Linked DNA regions of Homo sapiens: regions 1, 2, 4 and 5 are each linked to region 3. Evidence: promoter capture Hi-C in human tissues and cell types (Jung and others, 2019). All regions are on one chromosome and are shown on one strand. The core of a region is centred on a gene start or on the middle of the fragment in contact, and the rest is flanking DNA. Distances in the headings are between cores, read along the strand shown. Region 1 has its middle 52 kb from the start of CCR3. Region 2 holds the start of CCR1 (C-C motif chemokine receptor 1). Region 3 holds the start of CXCR6 (C-X-C motif chemokine receptor 6). Region 4 overlaps LARS2 (leucyl-tRNA synthetase 2, mitochondrial). Region 5 has its middle 27 kb from the start of CCR3.

What was found. The method cuts DNA at HindIII sites, captures the fragments that hold promoters and counts their contacts. A contact is called where the count stands out against the background at its distance.
Region 1: a fragment that was not itself captured here is called in contact with the fragment with the promoter of CXCR6 in region 3 in 2 of the 25 tissues and cell types used here (IMR-90 fibroblasts and lymphoblastoid cells).
Region 2: the fragment with the promoter of CCR1 here is called in contact with the fragment with the promoter of CXCR6 in region 3 in 6 of the 25 tissues and cell types used here (IMR-90 fibroblasts, bladder, mesenchymal stem cells and 3 more).
Region 4: a contact is called between a fragment that was not itself captured here and the fragment with the promoter of CXCR6 in region 3, in 1 of the 25 tissues and cell types used here (lymphoblastoid cells).
Region 5: a fragment that was not itself captured here is called in contact with the fragment with the promoter of CXCR6 in region 3 in 1 of the 25 tissues and cell types used here (adrenal gland).

Annotation. Positions count from the first base shown.
Region 1 is chr3:46,293,447-46,296,329 of GRCh38, forward strand. No RefSeq gene overlaps it. Among named protein-coding and RNA genes, the nearest start is that of CCR3, 52 kb to the left of the region's middle. The HindIII fragment of the contact is 4,646 bases long and covers 1-2,883 here.
Region 2 is chr3:46,206,848-46,209,730 of GRCh38, forward strand. CCR1 (C-C motif chemokine receptor 1) reads right to left here and starts at 1,466. Exons shown (of 2, transcript NM_001295.3): 1 at 1,435-1,466. The HindIII fragment of the contact is 6,364 bases long and covers 1-2,883 here.
Region 3 is chr3:45,941,678-45,944,754 of GRCh38, forward strand. CXCR6 (C-X-C motif chemokine receptor 6) reads left to right here and starts at 1,787. Exons shown (of 2, transcript NM_006564.2): 1 at 1,787-1,863. The region is part of intron 14 of FYCO1 (FYVE and coiled-coil domain autophagy adaptor 1); the gene reads right to left. The HindIII fragment of the contact is 14,146 bases long and covers 1-3,077 here.
Region 4 is chr3:45,496,423-45,499,731 of GRCh38, forward strand. The region is part of intron 14 of LARS2 (leucyl-tRNA synthetase 2, mitochondrial); the gene reads left to right. The region is part of intron 2 of LARS2-AS1 (LARS2 antisense RNA 1); the gene reads right to left. Among named protein-coding and RNA genes, the nearest start is that of LARS2-AS1, 11 kb to the right of the region's middle. The HindIII fragment of the contact is 5,058 bases long and covers 1-3,309 here.
Region 5 is chr3:46,267,447-46,270,675 of GRCh38, forward strand. No RefSeq gene overlaps it. Among named protein-coding and RNA genes, the nearest start is that of CCR3, 27 kb to the left of the region's middle. The HindIII fragment of the contact is 5,988 bases long and covers 1-3,229 here.

The DNA.
Region 1 (2,883 bases), core at 344-2,843, 350 kb after region 3:
AGGGAAAAGAAACTCTGGCATCCTTAAATCTCTGGCCCAGTAGGGGGCCCTGAAATCCTGCCTAGCTGTGGAAGGCCCTCTCCCCTCATCTTGGATGTCCTCAGCTTTCTTTAGACTCACACTCTGCATTGTGGCCCAAAAGGACAGATCACCTGGATTTTGTACACAGATTTAGATGGTGTCTGTACTTTTTCTGCCAGGCCCCACCCAGTGGATTAAGCTGTTACGAGATGGAACCAGAAACCTGGGTCAGGACACACCATCGGCCCCTGTGTAGGATTCTTCATGTGACAGCTACTCCTTCAGATGCAATTTGGCCATCCAGCCATTTGCCCTGCCCCTGGCCCAGGGTAGTCCCTACTTCCTCCGGTCACCTATTGATTCATATGTGTCAGTTATGACACCTTAGACGTTGCTCAGTGACCTTGGGTGAGGCGAGCAGCAATGGAATAATAAGCACCCACCTGTTTCTGAGCTGCGTCTTGGTCCCACCCATGTTCACAGCCTCCATGACCTTGAGGCTGTGTGGCTCTTCTGCAGAAAGCACGGCACACAGGATCCCCAGTTGAGGCAGTGTGCAAACAACAGAGAAAGGATTAGTGAGATGTGGATGGGGCAGGCATCCACGTCTTCTCTATTCCAGAAAGAAGGCTGATATCACAGAGCAAGGGGGAGTCCCAGGGAACTGGCAAAGCAACTGTGACACATCCCAGGAGTGAGTGGGCTTGGGGGCTTGCTGGGGCAGGGAGTTGTAGACTCTCAAAAAGCAGAGGGGGAGATGAATCATGTAGATAACTCAAAACCTGCAAGAAGGAAATTACTTTAAGTACTTAAACTCAAAGGTTGTTAGTTTCAATCCTTCTACAGAAGCCAAGACAAAAAGGTGAAAGAACAGGTGAGGAGAAGGGGATTTCAACACAGGAATTGAAACTGAGACATCCTGGGGCTGCGAGAGGGGCAGAGGTTTTCTTCTCTTTAATTGTCCATGATCCTAGCTCCAATTCCTGAAACTGAAGAATCAGGTTAGTTTTTGTGATTTTCTGATAGCTTCCATGGTGCCCACCAAACACTTAGAACCAGCGTCCATGGACACAGTATTGAATTAAGCATTATGGCATGCACAGAGGATGTGAAACAATTGGAAGGCAATGAACAGCAGTGCCATGGTTTGATGTAGGGCTTCCTTATTCACAGTGAAGTTCATGGACTAACAGCATCCATACCCTCTGGGAGCTTTTCAGAAAGGCTGAATCTCAAGCCCCACCCCAGAGCTACTGATCAGAATCTGCATTTTTAGCAAGACTCCCAGATGATTTGTAGGCAGGTTAAAGTTTTAGAAATGCTTATATAGGCAATAAGGCAGACAGAAGAGACTGCCTGAAGTGGAGGCTGAGGCAATGTGCAAACAACAGAGAAGGGGCTGAAATTGGGGCTGCTACAGAAAGCTTCATGGACAAGTGGAGACTGGGCCAACACACAGGGCCTTTCTTTCCTTTACTCATGTGACCTTCCTACTGGGGGAATATGTGTTTGGTTACAAGTAATACACTGCCTCTCCAGCAAGGTGTCCAGGGATGTTACTTTTGCTTTCAGGAAACCCATGAAAAGGAAATTTCAACTCCTGTAATCAGGAAAGAAAGGAATAGCTCATGTGCTAAGAATGGCCTTCGTCCCTTAGCAAGGAACTGCTCTCTGAGTGCAGAAAGAGAGATTGAATGCCTACCCGAGCCAGACACTCCCCGGCTTTCTCTCCCCACTCGAAACACTGCTTACTGGACTGTGCCTCAGCTTGTCACCACCGACTCCCAGTGAGGAGTGCTCTATTTTAAAATTGCCCTTTGAGGCAGGGTCAGTGGCTCACTCCTATAATCCCAGCACTCTGGGAGGCCGAGGTGGGTGGATCACCTGAGGTCAGGAGTTCGAGATCAGCCTGGTTAACATGGTGAAACCCCATCTCCACTAGAAATACAAAAACTAGCCAGGTGTGGTGGCAGGTGCCTGTAATCCCAGCTACTCGGGAGGCTGAGGCAGGAGAATCACTTGAACCCAGGAGGCGGAGGTTGCAGTGAGCCAAAATGGCACCCCTGCACTCCAGCCTGGGCAACAGAGACTCCGTCTCAAAAAATAAATAAAAAATAAAATAAAATTGCCCTTCGAAGCTGTCTTTACTCCATGGATCTTCAAAAGGACGTTCATTACATTGCACTGGTAGTTGCCATCCTGTTCTCCAGGACACACTAATTAATGACTGCTACAGAAAAACAGGACAAGAGGAAGAAGAAGTCAAAGATGGTCTTCTGTGCTCCAGAAGCTCTGGAAGATGTGAGACTTGCAGAGCCTTTGATACACCAGTGTGGGACTCTAAGCTTATTTAAGCACTTTTTTCAAGATGTAAAAGACTTCAGGACAGGCTTCATCGCTTCTGTGTCTTCTCAAAGAAAACCCATTTTCTCTGAGACATTTTTCTCCTTGAATCCTGTACCAAGAATGACTGTGAATCTACTGGGGAACTACCTTGCCTGATCTTCTGAGTCTAAAAAATCAGAACATATGGCCGGGCACGGAGCTCACGCCTGCACTTTGGGAGGACAAGGCAGACAGATCACGAGGTCAAGAGATGAAGACCATCCTAGCCAACATGGGGAAACCCGGCCTCTACTAAAAATACAAAAATTAGCTGGGAGTTGTGGCGCATGCCTATAGTCCCAGCTACTTGGGAGGCTGAGGCAGGAGAATCACTTGAACCTGGCAGGCAAAGGTTGCAGTGATCTGAGATCACACCACTGCACTCTAGCCTGGTAACAAAGCGAGACTCCACCTCAAAACAAACAAACAAACAACATAAAAAAGAATCAGAACATAGATGTGTTCTGCTCTTTGCTC
Region 2 (2,883 bases), core at 216-2,715, 260 kb after region 3:
CTGCACAGTGGTCAGCTATAGCCCTGGATCCTGGACCCTCCACTGCTAGTGTCCTCCAGCCTGGGAGTTGGTGAAGTCTCTGAGCAGAGATAGAGCAGTCTGTGATGGTGAAAGACACCCAGGCCTATGGTGCGCTGGCTGGCTTATACTGGTTTATAAATGCCAATTGCGTGCATCTCTTCCCCACTCCACATTCAGCATGTTGGTAGCTTGAAACTGACCACAGTGGGGGCATTTATACCATGAAAATCAACAAATGTTATAAAGCAGGGATCTTTTCTTCAGAAGAGTCAGTTGTTGAACATTTACCAGCACATCACTGCCCAGGCCCCACATTCTGAACAGTCCAGCACTGTCCCACTGCTCGGTGCGGGAACTAAAGGATCAGTGAGTGGCACATAGCCTGGTGCCAGGTTGTGCAAACTTTTGGGAGTTTCCATCTCTTCTTTGAAATCTGGGACCCACCAAGACCACCTATGAAGTAGATACCTATACGGAGCCACCATGCCCCTCTATCTTCAGAACAAAATCCTGACCTGTGTCTTTGTTAGTAGAGCAGAACAGATGCCCCCCAAGATCACCTGGCCAGCTCCTTGCCTTTGGGTGAGTGAAAGCCTACCTCTTCCAAAGATAGCAGTGCCAATTTTGAGGATCCTTGGTTCTAGTCTTCTTAAGAGATAGGTTCAGTATCAAATCATCCTTGCATCTGCCAAGATTTTTCTAGCTAATATTTCCCTCTTGCTATAATTTCTTCATACACCATGTTTGGTTTTCCTTTACATGGGGGAATTTGGCAAGCAATTTTTTTTTTTTTTTCAGACAGACTCTTGCTCTGTCGCCAGGCTGGAGTGTAGTGGTGCAATCTCAGCTCACTGCAACCTCCACCTCCCGGATTCGAGTGATTCTCCTGCCTCAGCCTCTTGAGTAGCTGGGACTACAGGCATGCGCCACCATGCCCGGCTAATTTTTATTTTTAGTAGAGACAGGGTTTCACCATATGGCCAGGATTGTCTCCATCTCTTGACCTCATGATCCACCTGCCTCGGTCTCCCAAAGTGCTGGGATTACAGCCGTGAGCCACTGCGCCCCGCCAAGTAATTTCTTATTGAATAGGTTTCCACAGAAAACACCTTTTGTCCCTTAGTACTGACTGACTTTCTTAATCAGTAACCAAAAGCCAATCCTTCAAGTAAGCTTCCTTTTTAGCAAAAAAGCCTATATTTCATCTGAGCACCCAGCTTTATAAATCCACCATTCTCAGTATTGCTACAGTATTAATTGCCTTGGAGATGCATCCATGGGCTACTTAGACATTTGCCCAGCCTACTCAAAGAATTCCCCCTACCTTTGAGGAGCCCCTAGCTGCATGCATGTCTTTGAACAACACTGCCCTCCACAGTAACAGATAAGACAGAAAAGACAAGTGACACTTACTCTGGTTCCAAGGGACTTTGTCCGTGAAGTCTTTGTTTCTGGGGCTTTCTGGGTTTTTATGAATTCAAGTTTCAAGATCCTGACCAAGTAGGAAGTACTCAGCTTCCTGTGTGATGATGGAGAATTGGCTCCAGTTTCACAGTCTTTCAAAATGACAAGAAAGGGACAAAGTTCTTCTTTTTGTGTGGTTTGGTGCTCATGAATGGCCACAACGCCCACCAGTGGCCACTTCCTGGAAGCCAAGTTAACTGCGAGGATTTTCTCTGCTCACTCTGAGCCTCTTGAGTCTTGGCCCTGGGAGCTCAGCCTTAAGGGAATTGGGGGCAGGTGAAGCTGAGTTGGGTGAGGTGGGTGGCAGTGAGATGTTCCCAGAATGTTTGGAGCAATTGAAGTGTGGGATGTGTGTATGTGGGATGGGGGCAGGGCATAGAGCTCTTGTGGTCAGCGGCAGACTTCTTTTTTTTCTTCTTCTTAAAGATTGTGAATGGAAGGATTTAAACTGGAACCCTGAGTCCTGTTCCTCAAAACTAACTGACATGGGTGCTCACAGAGGCAGCAGCTTCTCTTTGGCACCCTATGCCCCTCGGCTTCTGGGAGCTCATTGTCCCTCTGCTCTCTGCTCCCCAAGTCCCTCCCCACCAAACCTCAGAGAGTGGCTTTGCCCCAGGAACCTCCAGCATGAAGGGAATATAGGTCTGTTGGTTACATTTTGACCTTCCCTTTCTGATGCCCCATTCCTGTTTTACGTGATGGTCAAACATGGGCCAAGTTCAAATCCCAGCTCTCCACCTGTGACATGGGCAGATCACTCACCTTTCTAAGTCTTGGTTCCTACTCTGCTAAATGGGAGTATTGAATGCTTACCTCAGAGGAGAAGCACGAAGTCAACTTGTACATGAAAAATGTCAGAGTGCCTGGCACAGTGAAAAATGTCTGACAAATGATGAGTACTGTGACTCTCCTCACAACTGCCAACACCTACTCTGCCTCTGCCCTTGTGTCTTCTATAAAGTGGGGACACCCCTAACCTTCCTCACGGCATTGCTACAAAGCACTGTTTCAGAAATCATCAGTGTGAATGTGCTTTGAAAAGATCACTTGTCTCTTCATGGTTCAGTTTTCTTATCTGTAAAATGAAGAATTCAGACAAGATGGCCTAAGCTTGACATCTGATCATCACTCAGCTTCACCCCAAAGAAATAAATGGGGGTCTGCATGTGCCTGGCTATTTGCAGTACTTTGCTGGTGGATCAGTTTCCAAAGAGAACAGAGGCTTGTGAGGCCTGCCTTTTCCTTGATCCTGTCTAAAGTAAGGGACATGGTCAGTACCTCATCCTTGACCAGGCTTCCAGCTCTGCTCTAGGTTTCATTCCACAGAGGGGATGTACCAGGCAAATCTGCTTGTTCATTGAACAAATATTTATTCAGTACTCACAATGTGCCGGACAT
Region 3 (3,077 bases), core at 537-3,036:
ATCCCCATATTGACATGTACACACAGTCATGGAGGGCCCCAGGTGCTGGCTTGTTTTTCCCCATGGAGTAGAAAGGCTTGCTGAGAAAAGCATGGCCAAGGGTGCTTGACAAGGCTCAGGCCATTCTAACACTGCCCTATGGACCTGTCTTGAATGGCATGGTTGGTTGTCCCTGGGTAAAACTCAGCTCTCAAAGCTTAAAGATTCCTAAATGTCAGGCAGGGTTACATTAAATTGCCACCCTGCCTTGAAAGTTCTCTTTCAGGAAGACAGGTGCATATTTGGCTCAGTCTGTTCCTTTATTCATTTGTCCACCATTCCCTACATCCATCTGTCCATCGGTATGTAGTCTATGCGGCCTCATGGTTCATGCCCATAAGGAACACCTCACTCATTTGTACCAGTTTGGTAGAAAGGACAGTCTGAACGAATTCATTCAAAAAGGCCTGCAAACCTACTAGAGGTCTTCAGATCTTTTATCAGGGCCCCCTGGCACAGCTCCATACTCAGAGCAGGGCAGGAAGCACTGGCTTTGCAGCCTGACAGTCCTGGGTGACTGCCAGGGATGTGTGTTCTTGGGCAAGTGGGCTAATCTCTCTAATCTTCTGTTTGCCTATCTGTACGTGACTAGGATTAGATGGCTGTACATAGAAGCATCCAGCATAGGGCCAGGCTTGCGGTAGAAATGAGTGTTAGTCTCTGGATCCTGAGGCTGCTCCTGGTCCCTGCTCCCAATGCTTGACATTTGCCCTTAGGAAGAGCCACATGAGAAGGTTTGCCTAGCAGGTGGGAGAGAGCAACAGCATTGGAGAGAAGCAGCCTGAATGGGAGTGCAGAGCCAGAGAAGGCAGGCCAGGCACCTCCACAAGAAGGCAGCTGCTTCTGGGAAAGCAGACATCGAGTCCATGCCTCTCCCTAGTACCCTCTCCACTACAAGGCACTGGGGCATGTGACCCAGGCTGACATGCCTCCAATTCCTGCCTTCCAGCGTTATTTCCCAGAAGGGTCAGTAATGTTAGATCATGGAGACTGACAACTAGAACTGTACTGAGATCAAAGTAGTCAACATCTGGGGAATTCCAGGAGTACAGAGGGCAGCCCAAGGAAACCAGATGATTCCAGCCAGCCTACGCAGGGTGGGTGGGCACTGCCTGCTGAGTGCCTGAGTGGTGTGGGCTTAGGAGGTGGGGCTGCACCAGGCCCTCTGGCAGACCCATCATCATGCTGTTGATTGGTCTGGTAATGACAGATACCTGAGTGTGTATCTTCGATTTTCCAGTTTCTAGCTGTGTGCACCAGGGCTTGTTATTTTGGCTATGGTCCTCAGTGTTCTCATCTATAAAGGCAGGATAATATCCACTGCAGGGCTGCTATGGGGCTTAACAGCTATCACATATGCTGGAGCTGCATATGCACGCAGAACCCAGCCCATACCATGGACTCAGCATTGGCCCAGACCCTAACTGTTCCAAAAAGATGTCTGACTAGTGAATTAAGTAATTTTAAGGTACAAATGCCACCATCTTCGGTGGATGGCCAGAGCCAAACCTCCTTATTGTTCCCCTTTAGTTTACGAATAAAGCTCGTCAGGCCCTGACAGAAGAATCAGCCCCAAAGCAGAATGAAGGGAGTGTGGGGTATCAGTCACCCATCCATCTCTGACCCACGCGTTACACAGGGGCGGGTTGGTCATATGGATTCTGATCTGAAGGACGGGAGTAGGGGGTGGGTCTCTTATAGTAACCAGCTGAGGGCTCTTAAAAAATGTTCAGCGGAAACATGAACCACATCACAGAAGTAGAGGCAGACCTTGCTTCATGAGCAAGCTCATCTCTGGAACAAACTGGCAAAGCATCTCTGCTGGTGAGTCATTTGTTTTACTCTTTATATTGAAAAGAAGACAGGGAGGACTAACCCCAGGTATTGTTGGTATTCTCAGATTCCTGTCTGTAGTAGGGTACAGTGCAAAATGCCAGGCTATGGAGCTCAGCTGCTCTTCGTTCAAATTCCATCACTGCCATTTGCTGCTGTGTGGGTTAAACTGGAGAAACATGAAAACTACTGAACATGTTTCCAGGCACACAGTTAGTGCTTGCAGGCTGATGGTACTGCTAGTAATGGCATAGTCAGACCCACCCAGGGAGATAAGGAGAATCTAGTTATTGTCTATATTTGCTCAATGAATAATCTCTGTTTTCATTTCTTTTGCATAAGACAGGCTGTTTTATCAGATTATCATTTATGTTCTTTTTTCAATATAAATCAACATACTACTGTAGAAACTTTGAAAACTATTTTAAAAAAAGGAAGAAATAAGTCACCCATAATTCCACCAGCTGGAGGCCAACTGTTAATAAAATGTGATCATTTTTTCCAGGTTTCTAAAAGTACGGTCAGTTAAAATCACATAGTTTATCATGAACTCTTATGTGAGGGCCCACAGAATACATGGCAGAAGGATTCAAGGGGTTCATGGACTCCCAGAATTGTAGGGGTGTTTGTGTGTGTGCGTGTGTGTCTGTGTGTGTGTGTGTGTGTGTATATATATATACATTATTTCTGAGAAAAGGTCTGCAGTTTTTAGGAGATTCTCAAAGGAGTTTATGGTCAAAAAAGGTTAAGAATCACAATTTTATATCCTTTTGACATCTATTTGTTGTAATAGTAATAGTTAATACTTATTTTGCATATTTACTTTGTGTTTACACTGTTCTTAGCAATTTAACTGTATTGCATTTTCCAAAATCAGTAAAAATACTTCCTAAACATTTAAGTATATTCTATTTTATGTATGAATTGTAATTTGCTTCATCATTATCAGACTTTTACACTACTTCCAAAGTTGTAGATTTTTTTTTTAATTTTCAGAAAACAAAATAGGATTTTAATTATAGAGGATAAAGAAATGAATGTTTTTAGTTCGCCTAGAAGGGAAAGTAATTTTTCATACTCTATTTGCACAGCACTGTCCAGGCCCAATCTGTTTACCAATTATTATACATCAAAGTTTACCAATTATTACACATGAATTTGCACAGGTCCTTTGAGGAAATGTGTAATGGCAGCATAAGGGACCA
Region 4 (3,309 bases), core at 246-2,745, 450 kb before region 3:
CTAGAAGCAAAGACCAAGATGGAATTAGACATGCAAGAGATTTCTTGGGGGGAAATGCCTGTGCAGATTAAAGGGGAGAAGAGGAGGAGTGGGCAGAGAGTGCTCTTAGACCACGATGGAGCTGTGACAGGTGTGAAAGGAGAAGGGAAAGGAAGGAGGATCAGGTGGAGGAGCCTCAGCCCACAGCACAACTCTGAGAAAGCCTCGACCTGGCCAGTGGGAAGGCCCAAGCAAAGCTTGTCCATTAGAGTCTTACAGTCAGGCTAAAATGGCTCTGCTCCAGCCCCTCCCTCTACTCTCCTGGGAGCAGCCTGGGAGAGCAACATGGGCTGGCAGGAACACACCAGAGTGGGTCCACAGATGCAGCAGCTGGAAGCTGTCAGTCAACTGTGCACCTCGGAACAGGCTCTCTTAAAGGGAGAGTGCTACATCATTAAGTTAGATTATTCACAGCCAAGTAAATCCCAAGTACAACACAAATACAAAACGGAAAAAGAAGGAAATGCTACTGTGATACCCTCCTTGCAGTGAACTGCATTTGTATGATTGTAAAGATGTAATGTTATTTATTTAACTGAAAAGAATAATGTAACTCTACAGAGAAGGTAGCAGGTAGGGAGGGTGAGACCGCTAAGAAGCCTCACCTCTTACTACATAGTAGATCATTTCCTAAATTGATAAATCAATAAAGAGTATAAACATGTTTTTTTTTTTCAATAATTGCTGGGAGAAACAACCAAAAGAATTAAAAGTGGCTAAGAGACAGGCCTGAGGCAAGGAAAGAATTGGGGCTGGAGACCACTGTTTTTCATTGTAAATCTTTCAGTACCATTTTGATTTTTAAGCTGTATTCATGTGTTTATTTGAACCCCGCCCCCCCCAAAAAAAGAAACAAATTAAGGAAAAGAGAGCAGTAGGTAGCCTTATAAAGAGAGAGAATGAGAACCGAAAGAAACTCTTCCAGAGCCCAGGAAAAAACACAGCATTGTGCTTAAAAGGGCCTTGCCTAATTGCTCTTGTCCATGGCAGAAACATTCTGGAACCCTGTTGCCTACATATAAAATATGCCTCCCTATTCTTCGTGGTTCTAAAATAATATCTTTCTAGTGAGACAGATACTCCTGCCCTCACCCTGCCAGAATTTCAACCTGCAGTGTTGTGATTCTGTAATTTGAGTTCATATCAGATATAAGGGGGATCCTTGTCAGGCATGGTGGCTCACGCCTGTAATTCCAGCGCTTTGGGAGGCCGAGGCAGGCTGATCACCTGAGGTCAGGAGTTGGAGACCAGCCTGACTAACATGGCAAAACCCCAACTCTACCAAAAATACAAAAATTAGCTGGACACGGTGGCACGCACCTGTAATCCCAGCTACTCAGGAGTCTGAGACAGGAGAATCGCTTGAACCCGGGAGGCAGAGGTTGCAGTGAGCTGAGCTCGTGCCACTGCACTCCAGCCTGGGCAACAAAGTGAGACTTCCTCTCAAAAAAAAAAAAAGAAAAAAAAGAAATGAGGGGGATCCTGAGTGAAAGACACCCTGCAAAGGCAGGAAGGGTGCAAGGTGACGACTGTGGCTGGGAACCACCAGCATGGCCTTCTCTGGCCCACAGAGGGGCTCCCCTTCAGGGCCTTCCCTCTATAAGGGGCCATTGGTGCATTTCATGTAGTAACAACTGGCTTAGAATGCAAGTGAGGTCAGGCTCTTTCCTTTCTCAGAGTGCTTCAAAGGAAAGCCTTCACACAGATGAGAGAGACCTCAAGTTACCGTGGCGGGAGAGACATCCTGAGACCGTCACAGCCCCCAGTTTGTGAACAGCAGTGAGCACTTCATTTCCCTCATGACACACTGTAGTTAGCTTCAGCCCCAGCACGAGTTCTTCCTGGGGTGGTTTCCTGAGTGGATCATAAATCTGAGCTGTAGCTACTTTCAACATTTCACTCCTTAATATATCCCAAACTTGTTTTCCGGCCAAATACCATCCTTCACTTTCCTTTCTTTTCTGTCGCCTGGATTGGCAGTTGAATTTCTTTAGGGAACTGTTTTTCACGAAGAAAAAAAGTGTTTTTTAAAAATTTTATCAGAATTCTGGTACAGTGACTGGAGAACACCAAACTATATTAAGATGCAAATATGTGGTGGTAGCCAGGCTCTTTTTTCTAGCCTCAAAGCTGAAGCCAGCCAAGTCTATCCTGGGGAAAAAGGTGGCTTGAGGTGTCAGGGAACCAATTCACAAATATTCGAAGTCCTCCAAAGGCAAAGGTTTGCTTGATTGGCTGACCTCAAGGGACGGCATTACCTTGGCAACACAGAGGTCTGTCGCCAGCCAGTGCTGCCCCTCCCACCGAAGGTCCCAGCCAGAAAATGGAAATGACATTTCCTTTCCTCTCCAGTGTCCTTTAGGACCCAAGAGTATGAGAAAGCCTTTCTATTAGTATCTGTTAGGTGAGAGTTATTGGGCTATTATATGACAAGTCACCTTAAATATGTTGCATCGCATTCAGTAAGCAATATACAGTCTCTAGCTGAGTATATTTTCAGACTGCTTTAAAAAATAAAATCAAATTTCTATTTTAAAATAAACATTTACAGCTGGGGCACAGTGGCTCACATGTGTAATCCCATAACTTGGGGAGGCCGAGGCAGGAAGATGACTTGAGGCCAGGAGTTCAAGACCAGCTGGACTGAACGTAGCAAGACCTCGTCTCCATAAAAAATGTTTTAAAAAAATTAACTGATGGCCAGGTGCAGTGGCTCACACCTGTAGTCCCAGCACTTTGGGAGGCCGAGTTAGGCAGATCACCTGAGGTCAGAAGTTCAAGATCAGCCTGACCAACATGGCAAAACCCCATCTCTACTAAAAATATAAAAATTAGCCTGGTGTGGTGTCAGGCATCTGTAATCCCAGCTACTCAGGAGGCTGAGGCACAAGAATAGCTTGAACCCTGGAGGCGGAGGTTGCAGTGAGCCGAGATCACGCCCCTGCAACCGAGCCTGGGTGACAGAGCGAGACTCCGTCTCAAAAAGAAAATTAAAAAAAAAAAAGAAAAAATTAGCTGGGCAGAGTGGTGTGTGTCTGTAGTCCTAGATACTTGGGAGGTTGAGGCTGGAAGATCGCTTGAGCCCAGGAGTTGGAGGCTGCAGTGAACTATGATTGTGCCACTGCGCTCCAGCGTGGGTGACCAAGCAAGACCCAAACTTTAATAAAGAAAAAAAAATGTTTTTTAATGTGAAAATAAATTAATAAATAAACATTTAGTATCTGCATGTTAATCTTCATTGTAAATACCACATTGCCCTCTATTGGTAGG
Region 5 (3,229 bases), core at 111-2,610, 330 kb after region 3:
CCCCACAAAAAAGTAGGAATGGCTCAGGTCTCCATTCCCTTTGGTTCTGCCTAGTTATGGCTTCTAGGGGAAGTAAGTTCTAAGCTTCTGATTAACTTATGCCTCTCAGTAGAGATCATATGACTGTGCAATGTGAGCCTTGCCAGCTCTCCATCCAACAGCTGTCTGTTAGGTGATCCGGACAGGGTGCACAAACACTGCTTCAGGTTAAGTGAAAGATGCAAAAATGTGTAAGACAAGCACAATCCCTGCCCCTATGAAACCTTCAGTCTAGAAGGTGTATAAGATGGAAACAAACAACTCTGGTGCAAAGGGGTAGACACTCAATGCTATGCCTGGGCCAGGAAGGGAAAAACGACTTCTTGTGGGAACGTGAGGGGAGGAAGATTTCATGGAGGAAGTAGCTTTTGAGCAGTTTTCTGAAAGAAAGGCAGGATTTAGAAAGGGAGAGAATTTGGGAGAAGGCACCTTTAACCCAAGGGAATGCCCCATCCCAAGGGGAGAGAGGAGGGTATGCATATTTGTGGACAGGAGGGTGGCATGGGCAGGGTAGGGTGGGCCATGAACTTCACACAAGGGGAGCTATGGAAGGGTTTAGAGCAGGGGAGAAAAACAATGTAGGAAGATACATCTGGTAACACATAGAGCATGGAGGGGAGGCCTCAGAACCATGCAGGAGGGAAGTTAGGAGGTGAGTGCAAGTTTGGAGGCAAGGAAAGATCAGCAGCTGGTAAGAGAGGTTCCAGGAGCACTCAGGAGAATTTGACCAAGAGATAGCATGAAGGATGAATTAAAGCACTAGGAGTGATATATGGCTGAGTGCAAAAATCAAAGGGCAAGGCTGGGCATGGTGGCTCATGCCTGTAATCCCAGCACTTTGGGAGGCCGAGGCAGGCGGATCACGAGGTCAGGAGATAGAGACCATGCTGGCCAACATGGCAAAACCCTATCTTTACTAAAGTACAAAAATTAGCTGGGTGTGGTGGCAGGTACCTGTAATCCCAGCTACTCAGGAGGCTGAGGCAGGAGAATCACTTGAACCCGGGAGGCAAGTTTGCAGTGAGCCGAGATGGCGCCACTGCACTTCAGCCTGAGTGACAAGAGCAAGACGTTGTAAAAAATTTTAAAAAATGAAAATATAAAATCAAAGGGCAAAGCAGAGTGTATCATATGCTTAAACACAGACACACACACACACACACACACACACACACACACACACACACACGTTTTACTCTGTACTTAGGTGTATAGACCATCTCTCTAAGGATACAAAAGAAACCAGTACCAATATGGGGTGGCTGGAGAAGAGGAAAAGAAGCATGAGTTTTTGTGCCTTCTGGATTTTCAATCATGGGGACATACTTCTCATTCAAAAAATAAATACAACCTTAGAATGATATAAAAAATAAAAGGCTAGGCTGCTATGTAGATGTTCAGAAGTAGGCATACGTCCTACCAGCCATAAGGAGATTAGAAGCCTCCTGCCATGAATTAATCCTGTGACCTGGCACAAATTATTTGGCCTCTTTTGGCCCCAATTTCCTCATCCATATAATAAAAAAGTTGGATTAAATCATCTCTAAGGCCCCTCTGTGGCCCAAGTAGACTCTAATCTTGCTAAAATGTTAGGAGCTGGAGGCTCTAAGTTTACAAAATATATGATAAAAAAAAAAAAGGAGGAGAAGAGTGGTGGACAAGCCCACAGCATTACCTCCATTGGTCGTGAGGCCAGGCATGGTTCCCACTGTTCACTAAGGGGTACTCAGGTTTTGTTCATTCATTTGGTCATTTACCATTCAGCAAACATTTGCTGAGCATCCACCATGTTCTTAGCTAAGTTCTGAGGAAACAAACAAGGGCACACCCACAGGTGTCCAATTCAGTCTGACAGTGAGCTCCTTGGGGATGTCCAATTCAATCTCAACTTGGATGCTGCCTGCAGGGGGCTCACCATCAGACTGAATTGGACACTGCTCTTGTTCTCCACTGCCAGAGTTCATGATCATGCCTTATAAAGGAATTACCAATGCTTGAATTCAACCCAGATGAAAGTTCCACGTGAAGACCAGAAGACATTTTTTATTTCCCAATCCAATGCTTGGAGAAAGGGAGTGCATTCTCTTGGTCATGATTCCATCCATCCTCACCCTCTGGTGAGTGGCCTGGCCTTTTGTCACTGTCTTGCCTATCTAAGAGCTCTGCATGGCCAACACAGGATGTGAACTCTGTAACACTCTAAACCACGCAACATGAATCTCAATTTGGCTAGGACAATTTGAAGTACGTCTCTTTTTTGTGGTTCAGCCAAAATGTAAATAAAACAATCATTTAAAAACTGAACTACACATCACTGGTTCTCTCTTGCATTATGAAGTTGCATCTGCCTTAGGTAACCACAAGTGCAGGATAGAGATGCTTGTTCATACCATACTCCTCTTACCCTTGAAAGCTTTTAGGAGCTTTTTGACTCTCTCAAACTTCACATAACCAAATCATGAATTGGTGTGTGCTGCTTTGTTCCCCATCCCAGCTCTGTTCAAGAACTATAGAAATACACTGAGAGAAATGTTCTATATCTGCACTGTCCAATATGATCGCCACATGCAGCTATTGAGCACTTGAGCACTTGAAATGTGGCTTAGGTGGCTAAGGCACTGAATTTTTAAATTTTATTCAATTTAAATTACTTTGGATTTAAATTTAAATGGCCACATTGGTAGTGGTGCAGCAGCAGCCCCTTCAAACCTGCCTCTTGACCCCTCCTCTACCTATGCATCCAGCACCCTGTAGCCCTCAAACACATGCCCTGAACACTGCACAATAGGGAAAATCCTGGTGATGCAAAATGAACGAGATCCATTTCTAGAACACTCACTCACCGTTCAGTGGAAGAGACCCACCTGATTCCTGTGGCTGTAATGAAACATGAGGGGTGCCTGAAGGACACTGCTGCAGAGAGTAGGATGGAGACATTGAAGAAAGGTGCACAGAGAAGGTGTCTTTCTGCTTAGATGGGGTTCCTCCAGGCAGAGACCCTGAGCAAGGATTTGAGAGCAAAAAGTTTATTTGCAAAGTGCAGGAAACTCCAGTAGGGAAGTGAGGAAGTAAAATAGGGAGGGAGGAGAAGATGCGAACAAGGGTACATTATCCAGCCATTTTTCACAGGGGGTGACTGGAGTTAAAGCCACTAGGGAACTCTGGGAGACAGTACAACACACTTCTCCTG